Linked DNA regions of Homo sapiens: regions 2 and 3 are each linked to region 1. The links are contacts of gene promoters, found by promoter capture Hi-C in human tissues and cell types (Jung and others, 2019). All regions are on one chromosome and are shown on one strand. Each heading gives the region's core, a stretch centred on a gene start or on the middle of the fragment in contact. The rest is flanking DNA. Distances are from core to core; before and after follow the strand shown. Region 1 holds the start of RSPH3 (radial spoke head 3). Region 2 has its middle 4.6 kb from the start of TMEM181. Region 3 overlaps SYTL3 (synaptotagmin like 3).

Evidence for each region. The method cuts DNA at HindIII sites, captures the fragments that hold promoters and counts their contacts. A contact is called where the count stands out against the background at its distance.
Region 2: a fragment that was not itself captured here is called in contact with the fragment with the promoter of RSPH3 in region 1 in 1 of the 25 tissues and cell types used here (spleen).
Region 3: a fragment that was not itself captured here is called in contact with the fragment with the promoter of RSPH3 in region 1 in 2 of the 25 tissues and cell types used here (H1 embryonic stem cells and dorsolateral prefrontal cortex).

The regions. Positions count from the first base shown.
Region 1 is chr6:158,998,245-159,002,734 of GRCh38, reverse strand. RSPH3 (radial spoke head 3) reads left to right here and starts at 2,533. Exons shown (of 8, transcript NM_031924.8): 1 at 2,533-3,300. The coding sequence starts at 3,185. It overlaps TAGAP-AS1 (TAGAP antisense RNA 1), which reads right to left and starts at 2,862. Exons shown (of 5, transcript NR_183546.1): 1 at 2,343-2,862. RefSeq lists enhancers at 2,225-2,274, 1,847-2,818, 2,685-2,844, 3,015-3,084, 3,115-3,164 and 2 more. The HindIII fragment of the contact is 9,808 bases long and covers 603-4,490 here.
Region 2 is chr6:158,553,241-158,557,730 of GRCh38, reverse strand. It overlaps a transcript of TMEM181 not described here. Among named protein-coding and RNA genes, the nearest start is that of TMEM181, 4.6 kb to the left of the region's middle. The HindIII fragment of the contact is 5,216 bases long and covers 62-4,490 here.
Region 3 is chr6:158,687,073-158,691,562 of GRCh38, reverse strand. The region is part of intron 6 of SYTL3 (synaptotagmin like 3); the gene reads right to left. Among named protein-coding and RNA genes, the nearest start is that of SYTL3, 39 kb to the right of the region's middle. RefSeq lists a silencer at 4,320-4,490. The HindIII fragment of the contact is 5,101 bases long and covers 1-4,304 here.

The DNA of each region.
Region 1 (4,490 bases), core at 1,284-3,783:
CTTTCACTGACCTACAACAGGGCGCACGGCCCAGCCTCTGACTTCATCTCCGAATGCTCCTCCTTGTGCTCACTCTGCTCCACTCACTCTTACTGCCATCCCCAACACGACTTCCTGCCTTAGAACGAGGAATTGGCTGCTTCCTTGACCTGGAATGCTGTGACAATTAGTCACAAGTCTCAAGTTTCATTTCTTCACCTCCTTCAAGTCTTTACTCAAATGTCACCTTCTCAATGAAGCCTTCTCTGACCACTATAAAATTGATAGGTCTCCCATGCCCCTAGCACCTAGCCTTATTTCCTGCTTTATTTCGAATTAGCTATTATAATTATGTAACACCCATAATGTACTCACTTTTCTTGTTTGTATGACTCCTCCACTAGAATATAAATTCTGTCAAGGCAGGACTTTTAATCTGTTGTTTGTTTTTGTTTTTCACTGCTATATCCCCACTAACACCAGGGGAGTGGGGACGAGGGACAAGAAAACAACAATGCTTGGCACATACTAGATACACATAACTATTTGTGGAATGAATCTTTCAGTTTCAGATCATCCAAGAGTTGTCCACAAAATAGTCAGATATCCAGGACTGTCACCTGAGGGAGAAGTCTAGGTTAGAGATACATCCTTTGCTACCCTGAGTATATAGGTGGTACTAGAAATTACAGACGTGAAATGGGACTGCCCTGGGAGAAAGTACAAGAAGAGAAACAGGCTGTGGATAAAAACTTGTACAGGCCAGGCACAGTGGCTCACGCCTGTAATCCCAACACTTTGGGAGGCTGAGGAGGGCGGATCACCAGGTCAAGAGAACAAGACCATCCTGGCCAACATGGTGAAACCCCGCCTCTACTAAAAATACAGAAATTAGCTGGACGGGGTGGCACACGCCTGTAGTCCCAGCTACTCAGGAGGCTGAGGCAGGAGAACCACTTGAACCGGGGAGGCGGAGGTTGCAGTGAGCCAAGATCGCGCCACTGCACTCCAGCCTGGCCACAGAGCGAGACTCCATCTAAAAAAAAAAAAAAAGAAAGAAACTTGTACAAGAACCTATAGTGGCTATCAATTTCTTTATAAAGCCCACTGTGGCTGGTATAGCACTATTGTTTACCCACTTAATACCCACTCAATTCTGCCCCAACATCCTCCTAACAGAATTTGTTCTCCTCCTCCCTGGCCAAGTGTTTCTTGGAGGCCTAGAAAGACCGGTTACCTGGTCTAATCCAAATATGGTGGTCTTATATAGATCCTAAGCTTAAATCAATATGATGTAATTCTGGTCAGTTGGGAGTTTACGAGGGGGTTTTGCTCTTCCAATAAAGACAAAAGAGCAGATACTTCTATTACTACTTTGTTGAAGCCAACAACCCAGGTGACAGAGTGGAAAGGTAGGGGAAAAAACGTGTTGTTGATAATGTGCTGAGCCCCCAAGTTACCCTCCAGGTTAACCAACCTGGGGAGTGTAAAATAATGAATTCCTTATTATTTCAGCCACTTGGAATTGGTTTTTTGTTACTTGAGGGAAAAAATATTCTAATTAATATGCTAGTGTTTACTGTTTCCACGATGTGGTGTCAGCCTGTCTATATATATTTCTACAACTCATCTACACAAACCTTGCTTACAGTTTTCCAAATGCACCTTGGGCTTCTTGAGCCTTTGATCAAGCCATTCCGAATGCACTTCCCCCAAGAGGCTGGCCAGTTAAAATACTATCATTTATCAAACACAACTTAAATGTCACTTTCTCCTCTAGCCCTTTCAGAAATTACCTCAAAATTAAATGATCAGACCTAAAATATGTTGGGAGTGTTTTCACCTCTAGAATTTACCATACACCTTTATGCTAGTGTTACTTATAGAATGCCTACATCTGCTTTAGGTCATACACTTCAAAGCACAGAACGGTCCAGATCTTAATATAAAGGCTTGCCATTTACCAGGCACAGCTCTAAGTATTAACGGTTTTAATCCTCAAGACAAAACCTAAAGAGATAAATTCTTCTATTGCCACTTTGTGGATTAGGAAAATGAAGCACAAAAACATTTAACTTGCCTGAGGTTTCGGAGCTAGTACATTCTAGAACCTGGATTCAAATCAAGACAGCAATTAGCTGAATGAAGGTGTAACTGCAAATGCAAATAACTGATCACAAGGGATACACATTCACTCATACAAGATAGAAGATTTTTAACGTTGCTGGTACTAAAACCAAAGCGTCTGCGTTTTTAAGCGCAGCCCCACCCCGCAATACTAGAGACATTCTTTAGAGCTGGAAGCCTGATAGATTAAGGGGAACTATGCCTTTGTATTTTTTAAGACTCAATAAATTGCTCACTTCTTTCCCAAAATGAGGTGTCTGTGGGGGAGGCCCCTGTCGCTCCGTGTGCCAAGGGTCCTCCGATTGCTAGCACACAGCGGTGAGCAGAGAAGGTAGGTGAGGAACTGCACTGACTCAGCTGCAGAGGGCGGCGGCAGCCCGCCCCTGGGGCGGGAGAAGGGCAGGAGCCGGGAGACACCAGGAAGCTCTTCCCCGCCCGGGCACGTAACAGAGCTGGGAGCCTGGCTGCCAGGGGCGTGTTATCGCGGGGGCAGCCTGGGAGCGCTGCTGCGCCGCGGCAGGAGAAACAGCCGAGGACACCCTGGAAGAGCAGGAGCACGTGGGCCTGCGAGAATGGCGCCAACACCAGCCCTGCAAAGCCACATTCCAAAGCCGGGCCAAGGACAGCCACCGTTGCCCCGCAGGCCTCAAGGATGACGGTCAAGCCAGCCAAGGCCGCCTCCCTAGCCAGGAACCTCGCAAAGCGCAGGCGCACCTACCTGGGTGGCGCGGCTGGGCGGAGTCAAGAGCCGGAAGTCCCTTGTGCCGCAGTCCTTCCCGGGAAACCTGGGGACCGGAACTGCCCGGAGTTCCCGCCCCCAGACAGAACCCTGGGTTGCTGGGCAACCGATGCGGCCCCCGCAGCTGGTCTCTGTGGTGCTGGGAGCGAGCCCAGTATAGCTCCCACCTCCTGCGCTGGTAACCTCCCGTCCCGCCCGCCTCCCTTGTTGTCGCCTCTCCTCGCGTCGCGGAATCCTTGCCCTTGGCACTACTTACATCTCTCCGGGTCCCACAACACCTTAGCGCCCACCTGCTTCAAAGCCAAGCTCCACCGAAAGCGAGGCAGTCAGCCCCCGGACATGGCCTCAGCGCTGACTGATCGCACCTCTCGGGCCCCGAGCACCTACACCTACACCAGCCGGCCCCGAGCACTGCCCTGCCAGCGCAGCCGTTACCGGGACAGCCTGACGCAGCCGTGAGTGACCAAGCCAGCCCCTGTGTGGTCCATACTTGCACCCCATCCCCAGGCCGGGGTCTGGCCCCTTCGCCCTGGCAAAAAAGCTGCTTATGCTGTCTTCCCTTGGCTGCACTCTGCCGAAATAAAAGTTCTGCCCTAAGGAATCTCCCGTGGTGTGGAGGAGTGAAGCAGGAAGGGGCATGGGTTGGGCATCAGTTAACTTTTAGTGATATGAGTTGCTGCCGTGGTCCTTAACATGTACACGAATTGGCTCATTTCACAAAGTTTGAATTGTACCAGTGTGTATTGAGGGCCAACTACGTGCTGAGCACCTTACGGGGGGCATTCAAATACGTTTTCTTAGTTAATCCACAGTGCTGTGAAGTTGATTTTATAACTCCATTATGCAGATGAGGAGACCGCGGTGCAAAGATATCCAACAGTAGCATATCCAAAATGGGAGCCGAGTAAATCTCTTCGGCAGGCTTTGAGCAGGAGTAAGATTATTCTTCCATGCAGGACCACAGATTGGTTTTTTGTGGTGGTGGTGGTGGTGGTGGTGGTGGTTGCTGTTGTTGTTTTGAGACGGAGTTTCGCTCTTGTCGCCCAGGCTGGACTGCAATGACGCGATCTCCGCTCACTGCAACCTCCGCCCCCCTCCCCCACTCCTCCCCGATCAAACGATTCTCCTGCCTCAGCCTCCCAAGTAGCTGGGACTAGAGGCGCCCTCCACCACCCCCGGCTAATCTTTGTATTTTTAGTAGAGACAGGGTTTTGCCACGTTGGCCAGGCTGGTCTCAAACTCTTGGCCTCAAGTGATCCGCCCGCCTCGGCCTCCCAAAGTGCTGGGATTACAAGCGTGAGCCACCGCGCCCGGACGGCAGTTTGTGTTTTTACATCCATGAACAGTTGCAAATATTCAAACATACATAGGAAAGAAAAAAAACAAAACATAAGCCTTTTTTTTTTTCTTTTTTTTTTTTTGAGACGGAGTCTCGCTCTGTCGCCCAGGCTGGAGTGCAGTGGCACAATCTCGGCTCACTGCAACCTCCACCTCCCGGGTTCACGCCATTCTCCTGCCTCAGCCTCCCAAGTAGCTGGGACTACAGGCGCCCGCCACCACGCCCGGCTCTTTTTTTTTTTTTTTTTTTTTTTGTATTTTTTTAGTAGAGACGGGGTTTCACCATGTTAGCCAGGATACTCTCGAT
Region 2 (4,490 bases), core at 1,420-3,919, 450 kb after region 1:
ATCTTGGCCAATATGGCGAAATCCATCTCTACTAAAAATACAAAAATTAGCTGGGCGTGATGGCGGGTGCCTGTAATCCCAGGTACTTGGGAGGCTGAAGCAGGAGAATTGCTTAAACCCAGGGGGTGGAGCTTGCAGTGAGCCAAGATCACGCCACTGCACTCCAGCCTGAGCAACAGAGCAAGACTCTGTCTCAAATAAATAAATAAATAAATAAATAAATAATTACAGCTGTGATAGAAAAGGAAATGAAAGGTGCTATGATCATGTTATGAAAAGGGGAAAGGGACCCAAACTATTCTGGGCTCTAAGAAGCCTGGTGTGATCTATCAGCCATTTCTCACATGACCTGTTTGTTTTTGAGACAGAGTCTCCCTGTCACCCAGGCTAGAATGCAGTGGCGCAATCTCGGCTCACTGCAGCCTCTGCCTCCCACTCAAAAGATCCTCCGGCCTCAGTCTCCCATGTAGCTGAGACTACAGGTGTGCACTAACACAACCAGCTAATTTTGTATTTTTTGTAGAGACAAGGTTTCACTATGTTGTCCAGGCTGGTCTTGAACTCCTGGGCTCAAGCAGTCTGCCTGCCTCAGCCTCCCAAAGTGCTGGGATCCTAGGAGGTGCACCGCCTTTGGAGATAAGCTACTGTGAAAGTTGTCAGAATTAAAATGGAGTCACTTGTATTAAAAACAGGCCAGGTGCAGTGGCTCATGCCTATAATCCCAGCACTTTGGGAGGCTGAAGAGCACGGATCACTTGAGCTCAGGAGTTTGAGACCAGCTTGGCCAACAAAATACAAAAATTACCTGAGTGTGGTGGCAGGTGCCTGTAATCCCAGCTAGTCATGAGGCTGAGGCAAGAGAATCACTTGAACCCAGGAGGCAGAGGTTACAGTGAGCCAAGATGGCGTCACTGCACTCTAGCCTGGGCAACAGAGCGAGACTCCATCTCAAAAAAAATACCAAAAACAATCCTGACAAATAGAGCCAGAGAACACCATGAAGAGGATTCTCGTGCATAAATGCTTGATAACAAAAACCATAACAAAAGACTATAAAAACCATAACCTTGCACAAAGACCATCGCAATCTTACACTTTTGCGAGGACATCTGCCCAGTAACTGCCTGTCCAACGCGAGACTGGCATCCCCCTTGTGAGTGATCCTTGTAGCCAAGAATAATTAACTCAAAACAATTATGTAATCCTCCCCATTGTTCCTTTAAAAACCTTCATCTTTCTATACCTCCCTGAAAAGGCACATAGTTCACTATGGCACATATATTCCCATTGCAATGCCCTATTCCTGGATAAATATCATTTCTTTTAGAGAGCCTCTTTGTTTGTTATTTAGGTTGACGCAAATGTGTCAGAAATGGAATCGGGAAAAGGATCACTACGGGAAGGAAGTGATGATTCTTAGAACGGGTGTGTGGTACTCACTTGAGCCCTCTGAACTCTGCTGGCACAGCTTGCCTTTTTGGCCAAGGCGACTCTTCTCTCAGGCCCACGCTCCCTCTTTTTGGTAGCAGCTTTTTCATATTATTCTGGATTCGTTTTGGTTATAAGGCTGCCTTACATCCCTACTGGGATGATAAAAGACTTTTTTGTCTTTTCTGAAAAGTCCTTGTTGGTAGAAAGACATGCTGGTTTGAGTACTCTGGTTTCTGCAGAATTGACATTCTGTCTCTGAGACGTGTCTTTTCTGGTTAATTTACTTTTGCTTCTTTCTGCATGTCTAATTTAATATTTTGTTTGATCTGCATGCTGAGTTAAAGCTTGTGACTACACTGATTTTGGTTTAGTTATGTGTCTATAAATGATTCGTCTTTTTTCCCTTGCTTGTTTCTGAAAAATCTTCCAAGAGAAAAACATTCTAAACGGTGGGCGCACGATGGCTAGTTAAAAGCCGCCATCTAAACATTGTCCAAACTCCTGACATTCGCTGACAGAATTTATAGGGTTTCCTTTGCTCCTGAGAGATTAATAAAAAGCAGAATGGGATTCTCAAGTCAAGTCAATGGGATTCTCTCAAGTCTTCTGGGACTCCAGCTAGCTGTATATTATGGCTTCTTTTCACGCACATTTTTAAGCTAATAGACAAATTACATCATGAAACATTCAGAACTCAAATGATCATTATCTGAATTCTCTAAAAACACCTCTGAAACTATACAGTTAGCATGTAGAGTCTTCTAAATTCTCTATCTCTATTTTTTTCTGCTTACTTTAAATCTGCTGACTTTTCTACTGGAGTTGAGATAAAACTCACTGCTTATGGCATTCCAGCCAAGATTTTTTAAACCAAAACCAACAACCTAGGCCTAAGGATCATCTCTTTTAAGGTTAATTTAGTTTTGCCTGACTAATAATTGTTTGGGGTAATGGAAGTTAGTTGAAGGATTGATAAAGAAAAAATTAGATAAATCTTCATAAAAGGCTCACAGATCAAACAAGTCAAAATCTTGAGCTCAGAGCAATAATATAAGGTGTCTCTGTCTGGCATAAAATTGCTTTTTCTGCCACACAGGGGCCAAAAAGAAAAAGCCAAACAAACACAGGAAGGAAACCCTGCTAACATTCTTCCCTGTTCACATTAACCAAGCAAACCAGATGGGCAAACAAAAGATACATTTGTTACTAGTTCAAGGCTCTTTGGAGAGTTTGTTTTCCTTATATAATTCAGCCAGTCCTAGCTAAAATGTAAACATTGAAAATGTAACCCTAAACTCATTTAAAGCTGAAAAAAGCAAAAGAGTGGGAGTAAAAGAGATTTTTAAAAACCAAACTGCTTTGTCCAAAATCTTCGCCCACCATCTTCATTAGATTACCTATCGGGGCAAATAAAGTTCAGACATGTGAACAGGTTTCAACTTTGTCAATAATACAATTTGGATCCAGCTGTGTTTTATTATCTTTTACTGTCTCATGACTAACATTCTAAAATGAAAGCTGTAAGATATTTCTGTGTGTGGATATTTGTTTCGGTGCATTTACACATGTACGTGTATTATGTTTTATGTTGTGTCTTCATGGTAAGATCTAGCATGGACCCTTAAATTCTATTCAGATTGGTTTAAATGAGCTTTCATATAAAATATAGTAAGTCCTGACTTAATGTTGTGAATAGGTTGTTGGAAACTGTGACTTTGAGCAAAACAATGTATAATGAAGCCAATTTTTTTCCTCATCAATGTTAAAATGAAACAGCATTGGCCAGGCGAAGTGGCTCACGCCTATAATCCTAGCACTTTGGGAGGCTGAGGCAGGTGGATCACCTGCGGTCAGGAGTTCGAGACCAGCCTGGCCAACATGGCAAAATCCCATCTCTACTAAAACTACAAAAATGGCCAGGCGCGGTGGCTCACGCCTGTAATCCCAGCACTTTGGGAGGCCAAGGTGAGCGGACTGCCTGAGGTCAAGAGTTCGAGATCAGCCTGACCGACATGGTGAAACCTCGTCTCTACTAAAAATACAAAAATTAGCCGGGCGTGGTGGCAGGCGCCTGTAATCCCAGCTGCTCGGGAGGCTGAGGCAGGAGAATCACTTGAACCTGGGAGGTGGAGGTTGCAGTGAGCCAAGACCGGGCCATTGTACTCCAGCCTGGGCAACAAAAGCGAAACTCCATCTCAAAAAATAAAATAAAATAAAATAAAAAAATTAGCCAGGCGTGGTGGCTGGCACCTGTAATCCCAGCTACTCGGGAGGATGAGGCAGGAGAATCACTTTAACCCGGGAGGTGGGGGTTCTGGCGAGCTGAGATGGTGCCATTACGCTCCAGCCTGGGCAACAGAGCAAAACTCCGTCTCAAAAAAAAAATAAAAATAATGAAACAGCATTGAACAAAGTGACATCATTTGAGGACCTGTTGGACGTTGTTTCACCCAGTCACAGTTTCCAAGAACCTACTAATGACATTAAGTGCCAACTTGCTCTCTATATTAATTAACCCGAATGCGTTTTAGTTCATGTGACTTAAGAATGTCTTTAATAAATAAACTAGCTTTTAAATTGTTGAAAAAAATAAAAATGTCTGCACAATTGCCAACATATTAATATACTGTTGCATGGGTTTTGTGGCAGACAGTTTTATATTGGTCTTCATTAGATGTTTTAAGGTATTAGGGTTTAGCACAAAGATTATAAAACTATAAACACAGCCTAAAATAAAATGATTTTTTGTACAACTCTTTGATAAGTAAGACTAATTTAATATTGTTGGTTTAATAAAAATAGCTGTATCTTCTGAGTTATTGACAAAATAACCATATATTTAAGGTTCTTAGGTGAACACCTGATATGCACAGGCTATAAAAATGGTTAACAGAGAAATAACTGATGACTAGCTTTGTCTAATATCTCAGTTTTAATAAGTAATCTAGGTATAATTGTTAAAAATAAATAAATTTTGTAAATGTAAATGGTATATGTGTTTATAAATAAGCTTTTTATGTAATTTAAAATCTTAAAGTTTTATGGTATGTTAAATTAAA
Region 3 (4,490 bases), core at 505-3,004, 310 kb after region 1:
AAGAGGTGCATTTACAGGGAGGAGCCAGAAGAGGGCATCATTTCTATACGCTTAGCAGATGCCAAAAGAGGAGAGATGAATTTTCAGCTTGTTTTCTAGTTATTAGTGATCTAAAAAAGTTCTATCATAATTGTTTACTAATTTTGTTACTTTACTTAAAGTACATTAAAAAAGTTACTTGGGGAACTGTTAAACAGTCACTTTTTTTTTTTTCTTTTGAGATGGAGTCTCAGTTGCTGCCCAGGCTGGATGCAGTGGCATGATCTTGGCTCACTGCAACCTCCGCCTCCCAGGTTCAAGCGATTCTCCTGCCTCAACCCCCCGAGCAGCTGGGATTACAAGCGTGTGTCACCATGTCCAGCTAATTTTTGTATTTTTATTAGAGACAGCGTTTCACCATGTTGACCAGGCTGGCCTCAAACTCCTGGCCTCAAACGATCCTCCCACCTCATCCTCCCAAAGTGCTGGGATTACAGGCATGAGCCACCGCCCTTAGCCAAACATTCACTCTTGAACCCCATCTGGCCCCACCAAATTAGAACCTGTGTGTGTGAGGCCAGGAAGGTTGAATTTGAATCAGTTTGCAGCTGATCCTGGAGCGTGGGTCCAGGAACCACATTAAAAACCCTCTGCACGGATTGCCAAATGCCCGTGGATGGAGGCACAGAAGGTGATGATGCCAGGTTGTCCTGGGGAGCTTCCTAAAGGCAAGAGAGCCTATGAAGGTCTGGGTGCTTTGATAATTCGAATGTACTACAGATGAACCACCACGGTGGCATCAAAGAAATTATTTTAAGACCACAAAACTAAATATCCAGTTATGAAATTTTAGGGGAAAAAGCCAGCCTATAATCAGAAAAATTTTTAAATAAATCAAAATATTTAAAATTTTTTGTACTATCGCTCTACAAAATGAAGAACTGAGGCTCATTTTTTCTTGTTTTTAAATTGTTTTAATAGTTGAAAAAATAGCACAACACATATTACCACAATTTATTATTCTTCACTAGATTCTTATAGCATGTCTACTTCCAAGGAAATCTGGGGGGCATTTTATCTTAAATTGCACATATCCAATAAGATCATCAAAAGAGAAATAAGTAAAAGCTAATAAAAAGGAAACTGGGTGCAGAGGGTGTAATGATTCCTGGAATTACTGCAACTGAATGTTACATTTAGCTTTAGGTTTCCCCGTGTCAAAAAGGGAAGGATGTCTACATTTGTAAGGTGCCTACTCAGTGCTGGGCACTGACAATGGACACTACTCCCTCTAACAGCACTTTTTGTGGCCAAATGAGCAGATCCCTGCTCAATTTATTTATTCACTTATTCCTTTACTCATAGCTCCTGCTCTCAAACATTCAAAATCTGGCTAGGGCCAAATTGCCAAGAGTTGCAGGTGAAGGAGAGGGCACCGTGTGTCCTCTATGAGACAGCACCCGCTGGAGCGCAGGGCTGGGCACAAGGAGAGTGGTGCCCCACGCTGTGCCAATCAGTGGCCCTGGGTTACAACGCAATGGGAAAGGGAATGGTTATGTAACAAATGGTACCAGGAACATCAAGGATTGGGAGGAAAAAAAATTAGATAGGGCCTCCTGATGATTGTAAAGAGTTAACATGGTGGCTCAGGCCTATAATCCCAGCACTTTGGGAGGCCAAGGCAGGCGAATCACTTGAGGCCAGGAGTTCAAGACCAGGCTGGCCAACATAATGAAACCCCGTCTCTACTAAAAATACAAAAATCAGCTGAGCATGGTGACATGTGCCTATAATCCCAGCTACTTGGGAGGCTGAGGCAGAAGAATCGCTTGAACCTAGGCGGTGGAGGTTGCAGTGAACCAAGATTGCGCCATGGTACTCCAGCCTGGGTGACAGAGTGAGACTCTGTCTCAAGGGGAAAAAAAAAAAAAAGTTAAGTAAAAATTAGAAGAAAATTAATGTGGATATTTAACCTATCACAGGATAAGGAAGAAGTCTCGAAGCATAAAAGCAAAAGAAATTATACGGGAAAAGGAGATTTGCCTACAAGCAAACAAAAAACTTCTTTGTGTTAAAAACAAAATTATAAAGAAGGCCATGTACTAGGAAGATAACATGCAACTAACATGATTGAAAAGGACTAATCGCCTTCACATACCAAGAACATCTACAGAAGGTTGAAAAGTGGAAGATACTCAATCTTATTCGTGATGAGATGAATTCAAATCAAAACGATGAGAAAACCATTTTGCATGACCAATGTTGTTTTGCCAAACTGATAAAGTTATCTATTGGTTTGCATGTTGGTTTATTTTTAAGGATAATTCCACACCCTTTCTAAAGGAGGCAACATTCCTAACCTTCATCTTGTTCTCTTTCTAGAAATATTCAGAGATGTGCCAAAAAGATATCTACAAGGATATTCTTTGCATTATTCTCATTTTAATAACCTTATAAACTTTCAAAAATGCAACAGAAAGCTGGAAATCCCCTAACTATCCAACAATAGTTATTTGGTTAAACAAATGATGACACATTCCTATGACGGGGTGAGATACACTCATCAGAAATCATATAGCCAATGATATTTATGGACACTGAAAATGTTCCTTATAAATTACTACATGAAGAAACATTAGGATAAAACTGTACATACAATTTGATTTCAATTATGTAAATATATTAGCCTGACTCATGTGAAATTGCCTCTATTCAATAATTTTTTGCCTAAAAATACCAATTTCTTATGGTTCAACCTAAATACTTCAAAAAAGTCTATGTATATGTGTGTATACACACACATATATCCACACATACAGATATGCACCCACAAGCATAGATACATACACTCACAAAAGAACAGAAATAATATATACTAAAATGTCAACAATTGTTCTCTGGGTGAAGCTGCTGTATTTTTAACATTGCTCTTTATGATTTTCTTCATTTTCTAGGTTTTAATTTTTTAATTTCATTTAATTTTTTTAGAGACAGGATCTCACTATGCTGCCCAGGCTAGTCTTGAACTCCTGGGCTCAAGCGATCCTCCTGCTTTGACCTCCCAAAATGCTGGGATTACAGGCATGAGCCACTGAGCCTGGCGTCTAGTTTTTTACGTGAATGTAATTTGAAATCATGCTTCAAAGCTCAGAATGTAATGGGGGCCAGAGTGTGGGAAGAAGGAAATTTGTGTACCCTGCCAGCCTGTTGTAAATAAGCACACACTCCCAGAGGGTAATTTGGCAAAACATCAAAAGCCTTTCAAGTATTCATACACTTGACCAATCATTCTTCTAAGAATTTACCCCCCAAAAATAAACAGACATGTCAAAATACCTGTACAAGACGTTCATCACAGAGTTATCTATAACATGAAAAATCAAATACAGTGATATACTCACAGACACTCGGGAACAGGTTAAATAAACTATAGTGCATATATTTGGTGTATTTTATGGAGTCATCAATACATTTTGGAAGAAGTCTTAATAACATAGGAAAATGTTTATGCCAAGTTGAATTGTAAAAGCAAAATAAAACCACATAGAGTCTGATCACAATACATTTGAAATTGGATAAGTCTATCTGTGCACACACATATACACAGGCTTACCTAGAAAGAAGGCTGGGAGTGTGCAGGTGTGTACACGTGCATGTAATTTACAGTAGTTTGGGATTGTGGTAGTATTTCCATTACATCTAAATACTATTCTGTGTTTCCCAAATGCTTGCAAGGTTTGCATTACTTCTGTAATCAGAAAGTAAGTAACTTCCTTTCAAAGAGAAAAGGAAGCTCCCTCTCTTCACAGAATAGAAGATGGACCAAGGGGGAAGCAGTTAGGAGCTGCTACGTTGGAAGTGAGAATGAAGGGCAGAGGAAGATTCCAGAGACTCAGGAGGCAGAAATGTCAGGATTTGCTGACTGACCAGATGTAGCGGCAGAATGAGGAACAAAGGAGTCAAGTTTGATTCTCAGGTCTGTGGATTTGGAGACAGAGTGAGAGGTGTCGCCATTCTCCCAAGACAAGGAACACAGGATTTGGTAGCACACAGACGGTCCCAGTGATTCTTGCTTCCTGATATTCAGACCCTTTGTCCTCTCTGACTAGGGCTGACCTGTGGGACCCATAGGGCATAGCAGAAATGACAGGGTGTGGCTTCTGAAGCTAGACCATAAAAGATATTGTGGGCTCTGCTTTTCTCTCTCTTGGATCACTTGCCCTGGGAGAAGCCAGCCGCCATGTCATGAGGACACTCAAGCAGCCCTGTGGAGATATCCCCATGGTGAGGAACCAAGTCCTCCTCCCAATACCAGCAGTCACTGGCCAGGTATGAGGGTAAGCCCCAAGAGCACAGATCCCCCAGCCCCAGGCGAGCCTTCCACTGAAGACAGAAACTGTCAAAGAATGTTACTTGATTTATGTCACTAGGTTTGAGGGGAATTTGCTATACAGCAATAGATAACCAGTGCGTGGAAAGAGGCACAGACTGGAGCTGTCTGTACACTTTTG